3 separate regions of the Homo sapiens genome follow, and regions 2 and 3 are each linked to region 1. Evidence: promoter capture Hi-C in 16 types of primary human blood cells and fetal thymus (Javierre and others, 2016). All regions are on one chromosome and are shown on one strand. Each heading gives the region's core, a stretch centred on a gene start or on the middle of the fragment in contact. The rest is flanking DNA. Distances are from core to core; before and after follow the strand shown.

Region 1 (2,962 bases), core at 129-2,628:
GGAAGACTGGCTATAGAAACCATCTTTTAAGAACTTAATGCTAAGGACCAGTTATGTTTTACTGCAAGTCTTTAATGCACAATGCCAAGATCAACATTTTTTGAAATTACAATTTTCTCTGCTATTTCTTACAATGCTTATTTTCTTTCCATGGTTCCCAGCTAATTGGTGTCCCGTACCTGTGCTGATGTTGAATGTTTTTCCTCCAAATTAACCTATAGATGATTTCTGGGGTGGGGGTGAGGATGGGGCAGAAACCCTTTGAAAAGGAGTGCAAAAGTTCATGTTCATGTGACTACGTACATTTTTCAGGAAAGAGGTAATTATCCCAATACTCTGCAACACAAAAAAGATTCTGAATCACTGAGCCTGGGTGTACAAACACTATGTCTTGTGTGTATGTGTCTGTGTATATGTGTGTTTCCTAGTAAAACCAGTTTCATATCTTCATAGTTCTATTTCTTCTGGATAGTACTTTTCTAGAGAATATGGCAGTAATTTCTAATTTTAAAAGACATAAGAAACAAAAGTCACAGTAAAAATCTAATCAGCCAAATAGTTTATAAGAAAATGCAGGAAAAAGATAAAGAATGAGCTCCTTGATACATTGTATATTCTGGTTCAAACATAGTACATGCACAGATACATACAGCACAAAACACACTAACTTTAATATCCTGTGGAGAAGTTAATTTGCTGGATTACACATATGCATGTTAAATGGGAGCATTTATTAGAATAAGTCAGACCAAAAGAACACTTTCGCACGGAATATTTATATAATGGAAACAGGGATTTCTGAAAAATTGCTTCAGTTTTCCAGGTGGCTTTACAAGGGCAGGATGGATGTAGAGTAACTGGGAGAGAGACTCTCCTTTTAGCAACATTCTGGGCATGAAAGGCAGTTGTGGATCCAGCCAAATAAGCTGCAAACTTCCCGATGATATATTCACCGCTTTTCTACATTTTGTGATAGTAATAAGGAAGGTGTTAGCTCTAGCCTGCTAAATGTTTGAATCTGATGCATTTTGTAATCAGCAGAATAATGGTCCCCAAAGATGCCTACGCCTAACTCCTGGATGCTGTGAATATGTTGTGTTATATGGCAAGGATAAACTAAAGTTGCAGATGGGAATTAAAGATGTCAATCAGCTGAGCTGGAAATAATTAGAGTGCCCTGGATTATCCAGGTGGGCCCAATGTAATCACAGATTTCCTTAAAAGTGGAAGAGGGAGGAAGGTGTGTTGGGTCAAAGTGATTCAATAAGAGCAGGATTCAATCTGTACTGGCTACCTTGGAAGATAACAGGAAAAGGACCGTGGGCCAAGGAGTGTAGGTGGTTTCTAGAAGCTGGAGGGGCCAGTGACATATTTTTTCCCTAGTGCCTCCAGAAAGAACGCAGCCCTACTGACACCTTGGTTTTGGCCTGGTGAGACCAACTTTGGACTTTTCACTTCCAAAACTGTAAGTAATAAATTTGTGTTGTTTTAAGCCAACAGCAGAGGTGTCATTTCAGTTTGTAGTCATTGCTACAGCAGCACTAAGGAGCTGGCACACATTGCCGGGACTCGCTCTGGCGCTTGGGCGGCACTGTAGGTGTCCACGTTCTTGGAGGTAGTCAGCAAAGGGGGGCTCTCTCGGCTGGGCTGGCCACGTCTGCTTACACAGAGTGCTACCCTCTTCCCACTGCGGTAACAGCCTTGCCTTAGCCCCTGTGTGTTTGGAGTGGCATTCGCTACAAAAGTTCTTTGTCAAAGGGACAAACGATGAGCTATGATGCCATTCAGACTGATGTGTTAACTTCTAAGCTTTCCTATGATTAAGATAATTGTTCTATGATATGAGGAGCGGCATTGCATGCAGTATATTTCTTTATGTGCTGTTAAAATGCAGTTCACGGCTGTAGACAGGTGGGGTGAAATTAGCACCAGACTGGGAGACAGAAGCCCTGATTTCTTTCCTTGGCCTGTCCACATACAAGCTATGGGTGTAATGAACTTTTGTTTTCCCATAAACATTTTAAAATCACTTAGTCATGCTCCTCAAAAAATTTTAACTTTTGGATTAAAACTGTTGAAACTGTAGATAATCTGGTGGAAAATGAACACCTTAGTTCTACAGTTAACAAAGGTAAGTTATCTCAATAATTTGAACATGTTATATTTTTATCTACTTAGGTCTTGTCTGTCCTATAATAGTTCTAGGGCTTTTTTTTTTCCTATAAAGTTCCTGGTAATTCTTATCTGATTTTTCTTTTTCTCCTTAATATAGTGCATTATTCTGAATTGTTAGGTAAAAGTTGGTCTGCTTGTTGTCAGTATCTTATAGAGTTTGTGCTTCTCATATGCCTAGAAATTTTTTCTTGTGACTTTATATCCCCTTCAGGGGATATAAGATGCCGTGATTAATATCGTACACCAGGAGAAGGGGTTACAGCCTGTGCGCCTCCTGGTGATCTTGATTAGGAAGAAGGGGAAGGTGGACCTTAGGGCAGATGGCCTCTAGCATTGAAATGTGGGCTCCCAGATCCTCCATCTGTCCACATCTTGCTGGACACCTCCATACTCATCTGCCTGGGCCACTTCTCTGACTCCCAATCCCCTAACCCTTGGGCTGGGAGGAGAAAGAGCTCAGAAGCCAGCAGGTTGCTCTCTTCCCTTGCTGTGTGCTCTCAGTGGTTGTTGGCAGCACACTGGAATCACCTGGCAGCCTTAAATACTGATAGTGAATTGAATCCATAGAGATTCTGATTTTGTGCATTCCAGGTGAGGCCAAGTGTATCAGGCTGTTTTAAACCTCCCCAGATGATTCTAATGTGCTGCTAAGGTTGAGATCCCCAGTCCCAGCCCTCTCCTGAAGCCACCCCACTGGCTGGAGAAGATACTGGGCTGACATTGCTTTTTCTCTGCCCTGCCATGGTCACTGGGTGGGCAGGCAGGCCCCTGTCCAGGGTAGCGTGGA
Region 2 (3,198 bases), core at 464-2,963, 910 kb after region 1:
TTTAAATAAAACTATTCCATCATTCTTTCAAACATGCCAAATTGGGTAAAATATCTAGTCATAAGACAAGCTATCATATGGTTTAAAATGACATAAATAAGTTTTCTTTGATAGTTAGAAAATTTACATCATTCCTTTTTGCTCCAGAACTTATATTTTTCAATTTACTTTCCCCACAAAGTCAAATTCTGATATTATTAGTCACCTATTCAAACTCTTTCAAAATCAAATCCATTACTCTTTTTTCATTTTTATAGATGTAAGCAATTAAAAAATTCTTCACATAGGTAAGTAAATTAGAATGAAAAAAATTTTGCTTCTGACTTAAATGCCAAAAATTATATTGCAATCTGTCAAAAATTATTTTAATGTTTTATTGGCTGACAACTCAATTAGATTCTCCTTTAATTTTGTCAAAACCTAAGAATTGTAAATAACTGAGTTTTAAAATTATTCATTATCTCGTCACTATACTCATTCACTTAATTTCTGAGAATTATTTTTTAAATGGCTTTACTGAGGCTTATCAACAAATATATATACCTGCTACTCTACGTGAAAACATTTTGTGTAATCTAATATAGAATGAATTTGGAAAATGAAAATATTGTTAATTATAGTACTCCTTACAAAAAATATTTTTGATAACTTTTTTTTTTTTTTGAGACAGAGTTTCACTCTTGTTGTCCAAGCTGGAGTGCAATGGCATGATCTCGGCTCACTGCAACCTCCACCTCCCGGGTTCAAGCAATTCTCCTGCTTTAGCCTCCCAAGTAGCTTGGATTACAGGCACGAGCCACCGCACCTGGCTAATTTTTTGTATTTTTAGTAGAAACGGGGTTTCACAATGTTAGCCAGGCTGGTCTCAAACTCCTGATCTCAGGTGATCTGCCCGCCTCGGCCTCCCAAAGTGCTAGGATTACAGGTGTGAGCCACCACACCCAGCTGATAACATATTTTTATCTGATCATTCAATATATGCATCCAAACCTCATAACTGCAGACTCAGCTCTGTCAACTTGTGGAGGTATCCACCACGCAAAGCCAGTTGTCATTACAAAATCAATCAGTCAAATTGGATTTGCTTTCTATTAGAAAAAGTCTGTCCTCGTTTTTCAATCTAAGTAACTGTTAACACATGTTCTTGTAACAAGCATCTCACTTCTGAATTCTAACATAGATATATATATTGAAACAGACCTTTTCCATGAAGTTGCTACCTGGACAAAATAAGGCTTCTCTGATCTTCAATATTTCCAAGCATCTTTAGGAGCAACCACGTTTTACTGCTATGTCTCTTCCTTCTGTTGTGAGCACTGCCACATACCAGGTAGGAGCTGCTCTGTGACTGCATCCTGAAGTGAAGAGAGAATGGAGCATATTCCCTTCTCTCTCCTCTCATGTGCCTCTCCCTGGGAAGTATTGCAGTCATTGACAAGTAGGGGATATAAGAAAATGTCATCTCTTCTGCTACCCTACTTTACAATATATTTGAGTTTGGAGCATTGCCACAGAAGCTGAAATACCATTTCTAATGCCACAGTTTTCACCCCACAGAAATATGTAAAAGACAGAGAAAGTCATAAAATCCTTTAATCAGTGAAATCATCATCATAACTGATATTTTTCATTGGATTGGAGATTTTTATACCCCTGAACTATTCACTGTGGTAAGATTTCAGAGGTGTGAATTTATGCCTTTCTTTTGGAAAGTGAAAACAAAGGCAGAAAAGAAGGATGCACGTGGCTTCCTGAATTGCAGGCTCCTTTCCAAGACAATAGATCACAGAAAAGAGTATGTATGGATGTTGAACATATGTAAACTGATGCTCTTAAAACAATTTTTTCCCATGTAGCTTTTGGAAAGATTTCCTATTCCCCAACAGGTACCAGGACCCCAATGTTGCTATAGATGTCAAAGCAACTGGGAAGATTATATGTAATTCACAATTCTTGAAAAATAAGACATTTTATTCTCTACTATGTGCATGAATTTTCTATTACTGTATAACAAACATCAGCAGAAGAAAATATACATTTATTACTTCACAGTTTCCATGGGTCTAAGTACACACAATCCCAGCACATCTTCACTGGGTCTTCAGCTCAGGGTCACACATGGCTGCCTCAAGATGTCAGCTGGTGCTGCAATCTGAGGCTGAGCTCCTCTTCCAAGCTCACTGGTTACTGACAGGATCCAAGTCTTAGGATTGTAGGACTGAGGATCTCTCTCTCCTAGAGGCTGCACATGTTCCCTGCCGTATGACCCTCTCCACAATGTGGCAGTTTGTTTCCTTAAAGCCAGCAGGAAGACATCTCTGCTTCTTTTCTCTCTACCTCTAGACCCTCGTCTAAAAGGCTCAACTGATTAGGTCAGGCCTACCAAAGTAATTTCCCTTTTGGTTAACCTAAAGTGAACTAATTAGGGGGTTTAATTACATCTGTAAAATTCCTTTACCTTTGCTATATAAGGTAACATAATCCAAAAAGTAATATTCCATCATTTTTGCTATGGTCTACTGATTAGACACAAGCTACAGGATCTACCCATAGTCAAGAAAAAGAGTTTTACAAGGGGTGAGTCATTGGGCATCATCTTAGAATTCTGCCTACCACACTATTTAAGCCAAAAATAACATTAAAATTATCAATATAACAAACAGAGAGTGTTTTCTTCAAGTTTAGAGTATAAAATTTAAAGGACGGCCCCTAGAGCACTCATTATTTAGTGACTTAGAAGAATTATAAGGGAAATTAGTTTACAACATAGATTTTCCTAGCCCCAACCCTAGAGATTCTAATTCAGCTGGCAAAGAGTTGACCAGGAATCAGCATTTTAAATAACTTCTCCCTGATGATTCTGATATAAGCTCTGACCACACATTGAAAACCCCTAAATAGGGCTTCCATAATTAAAGAATGACTTCAATTTTCCTATGGCTCTGCAGTTTGGGCCAAAGAATTCCTCCAAATGGGCTTCTTAGTCCCTTTGTTTTATAAAAGCTATATTTCACAGGCTCCACCTCTCTGCTTAGCACCTAACATATTGAGAAACCTTTATATAGGCTCAGGAAGTACCCTTCTGTGTAGATAGAGTCCTTCTTGTAAGAGTAAGCAGACATCCTTCTCTCTGCTGTAAACCAAATTTTAAAATAGCATAGAGTGGATAGAAACCTGGTTTCTTCTCCAACTGGAGTT
Region 3 (3,083 bases), core at 323-2,822, 930 kb after region 1:
GTGTTTTATTTGCTCAACCCAGCCATTGGAATTGGGAGGAACAGCAAAGCAGAAAGAGCTGGAGGCAGATGAACAGCGGAAAATGGACAAAATTGAAGGTAGCTGGACTTGAGCCAGCTTGCAGATGCCCACGCAAGATCCTGCTGGCAGGTGGATCCCAACAATGAGAACCTGTAGAGTGGATTGTCTGGGATGAAGACTCTATAGAGGAATCAGAAAAGATCAGGAACCTGCGGGGAAGCTCCAAAGCGTTCTACAAAGAACCCACTCACACATATGTCCTGAAAGAGGGGAATGCTTGTCCAAGAGACATTTACTCAAAGCCAGAGAAGCAAAGTAACAGCAGAAAAATGATGAAGATGTCAGACAAGAAACACTGTGTCTTTCCATATCCCTCCACAGCTCCTACCAAAGGAGACAGAAACCCAAAAGAGCAGAGGTGGAGGAAGAAATGAAAGGGCAGGTTCTGCAAGTCTCCTGACCACAGACAGAAAGGGGAAAGGAGGATGATAGAAAATAATCATTAAATTGGATGTCCAGTTGAAATTTTAAGCTGGGTCAGTACATTCATTATTGATATAGGTTGGATGTTTGTCCCTTCCAAATCTCATGTTGAAATGTGATTCCCAGTGTTGGAGGTAGGGCCTGGTGGGAGGTGACTGGATCATAGGGGTGGATCCCTCATGAATAGTTTAGCTCCATCCCCTTGGGGATAAGTAAGTTCTTGCTGTTAGTTCTAGAAAGATCTAGTTGTCTAAAAGTCTGGGACCTCTCCTTTCTCTCCCTCTTGTTCCCTCTGTCACTATATGACATACTGGTTCCCCTTCTCCTTCCACCATAATTGGAAGCTTCCTGAGGTTATCACCAGGAGCAGATGCTGGCACCACACTTCCTGTACAGCCTGCAGAACCATGATCCAAAACAAACTCTTCTTTCTTATAAATTACCCAGCCTCAGGTATTTCTTTATAGCAATACCAGAATGGACTAACACAGTTTGGTCTCTTATAAGAGATGTAGTGGCTTAAAACCACACACATTTACTCTGTTTCTATGGGTCAGGAATCTGGGTACAACTTAGCTGGGTGTTCTGCTTCAGGCTGCAATCAGGATGCTAGCTGGGGTTACAGTAATCTCAGGGCTCCACTGGGAAGAATCCACTTCCAAGCTCATTCATGTGGTTGTTGGCAGGATTCCATTACTTATGAGCTCTTAGACTGAGGGCCTCAGTATCTCCCTTCCTGTTGGCCAGAGGTGACCCTGAGTTCCCTGCCATATGGGCCTCTCCAACATGAGGGTCATTCCAGAAGCTGCCTCCCACAGACTGCATTAACAGAATAACTGAAAGTGATCTGAGGGCTATGGTGCTACCCAAAATGTCATTTATGGCTGGAGAAAGAAGCCTGAACAAAGCACAGGTGAAAAAGGCATTGGAGAAAAACATTCAAACATTTACATTTATATCCATCAAGTTCAAACAGTTCTATAAATTGGATAAAAGCATTTACCTTCTTAAAGGAGGCATCAATTGAGTAGTAAGGAAGGGAGACAGTGTGGTCATAGAGGGATCTCCTGAACTCATTCTTTTTTTTTTTTAACTTTTTTTTAAATTATACTTTAGGTTTTGGGATTCATGTGCAGAACGTGCAGGTTTGTTACATAGGTATACACGTGCCATGGCAGTTTGCTGCACCCATCAACCCGTCATCTACATTAGGTATTTCTCCTAATGCTACCCCTCCCCTAGCCACCCCCACCCAACCCGTGTGTGATGTTCCCCTCCCTGTGTCCATGTGTTCTCATTGTTCAACTCTTACTTATGAGTGAGAACAGGTGGTGTTTGGTTTTCTGTTCTTGCATTAGTTTGCTGAGAATGATGGTTCCCAGCTTCATCCATATCCCTGCAAAGGACATGAACTCATTCTTTTTTATGGCTGCATAGTACTCCATGGTGTATATGTGCCACATTTTCTTTATCCAGTCTATCATTGATGGACATTTGGGTTGGTTCCAAATCTTTGCTGTTGTGAACAATGCTGCAATAAACATACGTGTGCATGTGTCTTTATAGTAGAATGATTTATAATCCTTTGGGTATATATCCAGTAATGGGATTGTTGGGCCAAATGGTATTTCTGGTTCTAGATCCTTGAGGAATCACCACACTGTCTTCCACAATTGTCAAACTAATTTACACCGACAACAAAAAAAGAAAAATTCAGGCCAATATCCCTGATGAGCATTGATGTGAAAATCCTCAATAAAATACTGGCAAACCAAATCCAGCAGCACATCAAAAAGCTTATCCACCACAATCAAGTCAGCTTCATCCCTGGGATGCAAGGCTGGTTCAACATACACAAATCAATAAACATAATCCATCACATAAACAGAACCAATGACAAAAACCACACAATTACCTCAATAGATGCAGAAAAGGCCTTCGATAAAATTCAACACCCCTTCATACTAAAAACTCTCAATAAAGTAGGTATTGATGGAACTCATTCTTTGGAGACCATGAGAACCAGATTTGAAGCCAAGCCTCACCACAGCAAGTACCCTTGGGTTAATTAACACCTTTGAAATGCAATCTTCTTCTCAGTGATCAGGATTGGATGAGCATAGTAGATGATGTATATGTTTGTGTGGGGTGTTTAGCTTATACATAGTGGCTATTAATATCATTATCCTTATGTAGTCCTCTAAAGCAGTGGTCCCCAAACTTTTTGGCATCAGGGACTGGTTTCATGGAAGATAATTTTTCTATGGACTGTGGTGGTCGTTAGGTTCAGGATGAAACTATTCTACCTCAGATCATCAGACATTAGATTCTCATAAGGAACACAAAACCTAGATCCCTCACATGCGCAGTTCACAGCAGGGTTCACACTCCTATGAGAATATAATGCTGCAGCTGATCTGACAGGAGGCAGAGCTCAGGCAGTAATGCTCGCTCACCCACCACTCACTCCTTCTGTGTGGCCCAGTTCCTAACAGGCCACAGACAGTACTGGTCCATGGCCTGGGGGTTGGGGACCCTTGCTCTACAGTTCATCTATGCAACATTAGTGACTGACAGAA

Evidence for each region. The method cuts DNA at HindIII sites, captures the fragments that hold promoters and counts their contacts. A CHiCAGO score of 5 or more calls a contact.
Region 2: a contact is called between a fragment that was not itself captured here and the fragment with the promoter of HTR2A-AS1 in region 1, in 2 of 17 cell types (naive B cells and M0 macrophages). The highest score is 7.3, in naive B cells.
Region 3: a fragment that was not itself captured here is called in contact with the fragment with the promoter of HTR2A-AS1 in region 1 in 2 of 17 cell types (naive B cells and M0 macrophages); the score reaches 6.2 in naive B cells.

The regions. Positions count from the first base shown.
Region 1 is chr13:46,850,762-46,853,723 of GRCh38, forward strand. HTR2A-AS1 (HTR2A antisense RNA 1) reads left to right here and starts at 1,379. Exons shown (of 2, transcript NR_103752.1): 1 at 1,379-1,465. All of the region lies in intron 3 of HTR2A (5-hydroxytryptamine receptor 2A), which reads right to left. The HindIII fragment of the contact is 4,589 bases long and covers 1-1,807 here.
Region 2 is chr13:47,758,682-47,761,879 of GRCh38, forward strand. No RefSeq gene overlaps it. Among named protein-coding and RNA genes, the nearest start is that of LINC00562, 170 kb to the right of the region's middle. The HindIII fragment of the contact is 4,143 bases long and covers 1-3,198 here.
Region 3 is chr13:47,776,847-47,779,929 of GRCh38, forward strand. No RefSeq gene overlaps it. Among named protein-coding and RNA genes, the nearest start is that of LINC00562, 150 kb to the right of the region's middle. The HindIII fragment of the contact is 1,452 bases long and covers 847-2,298 here.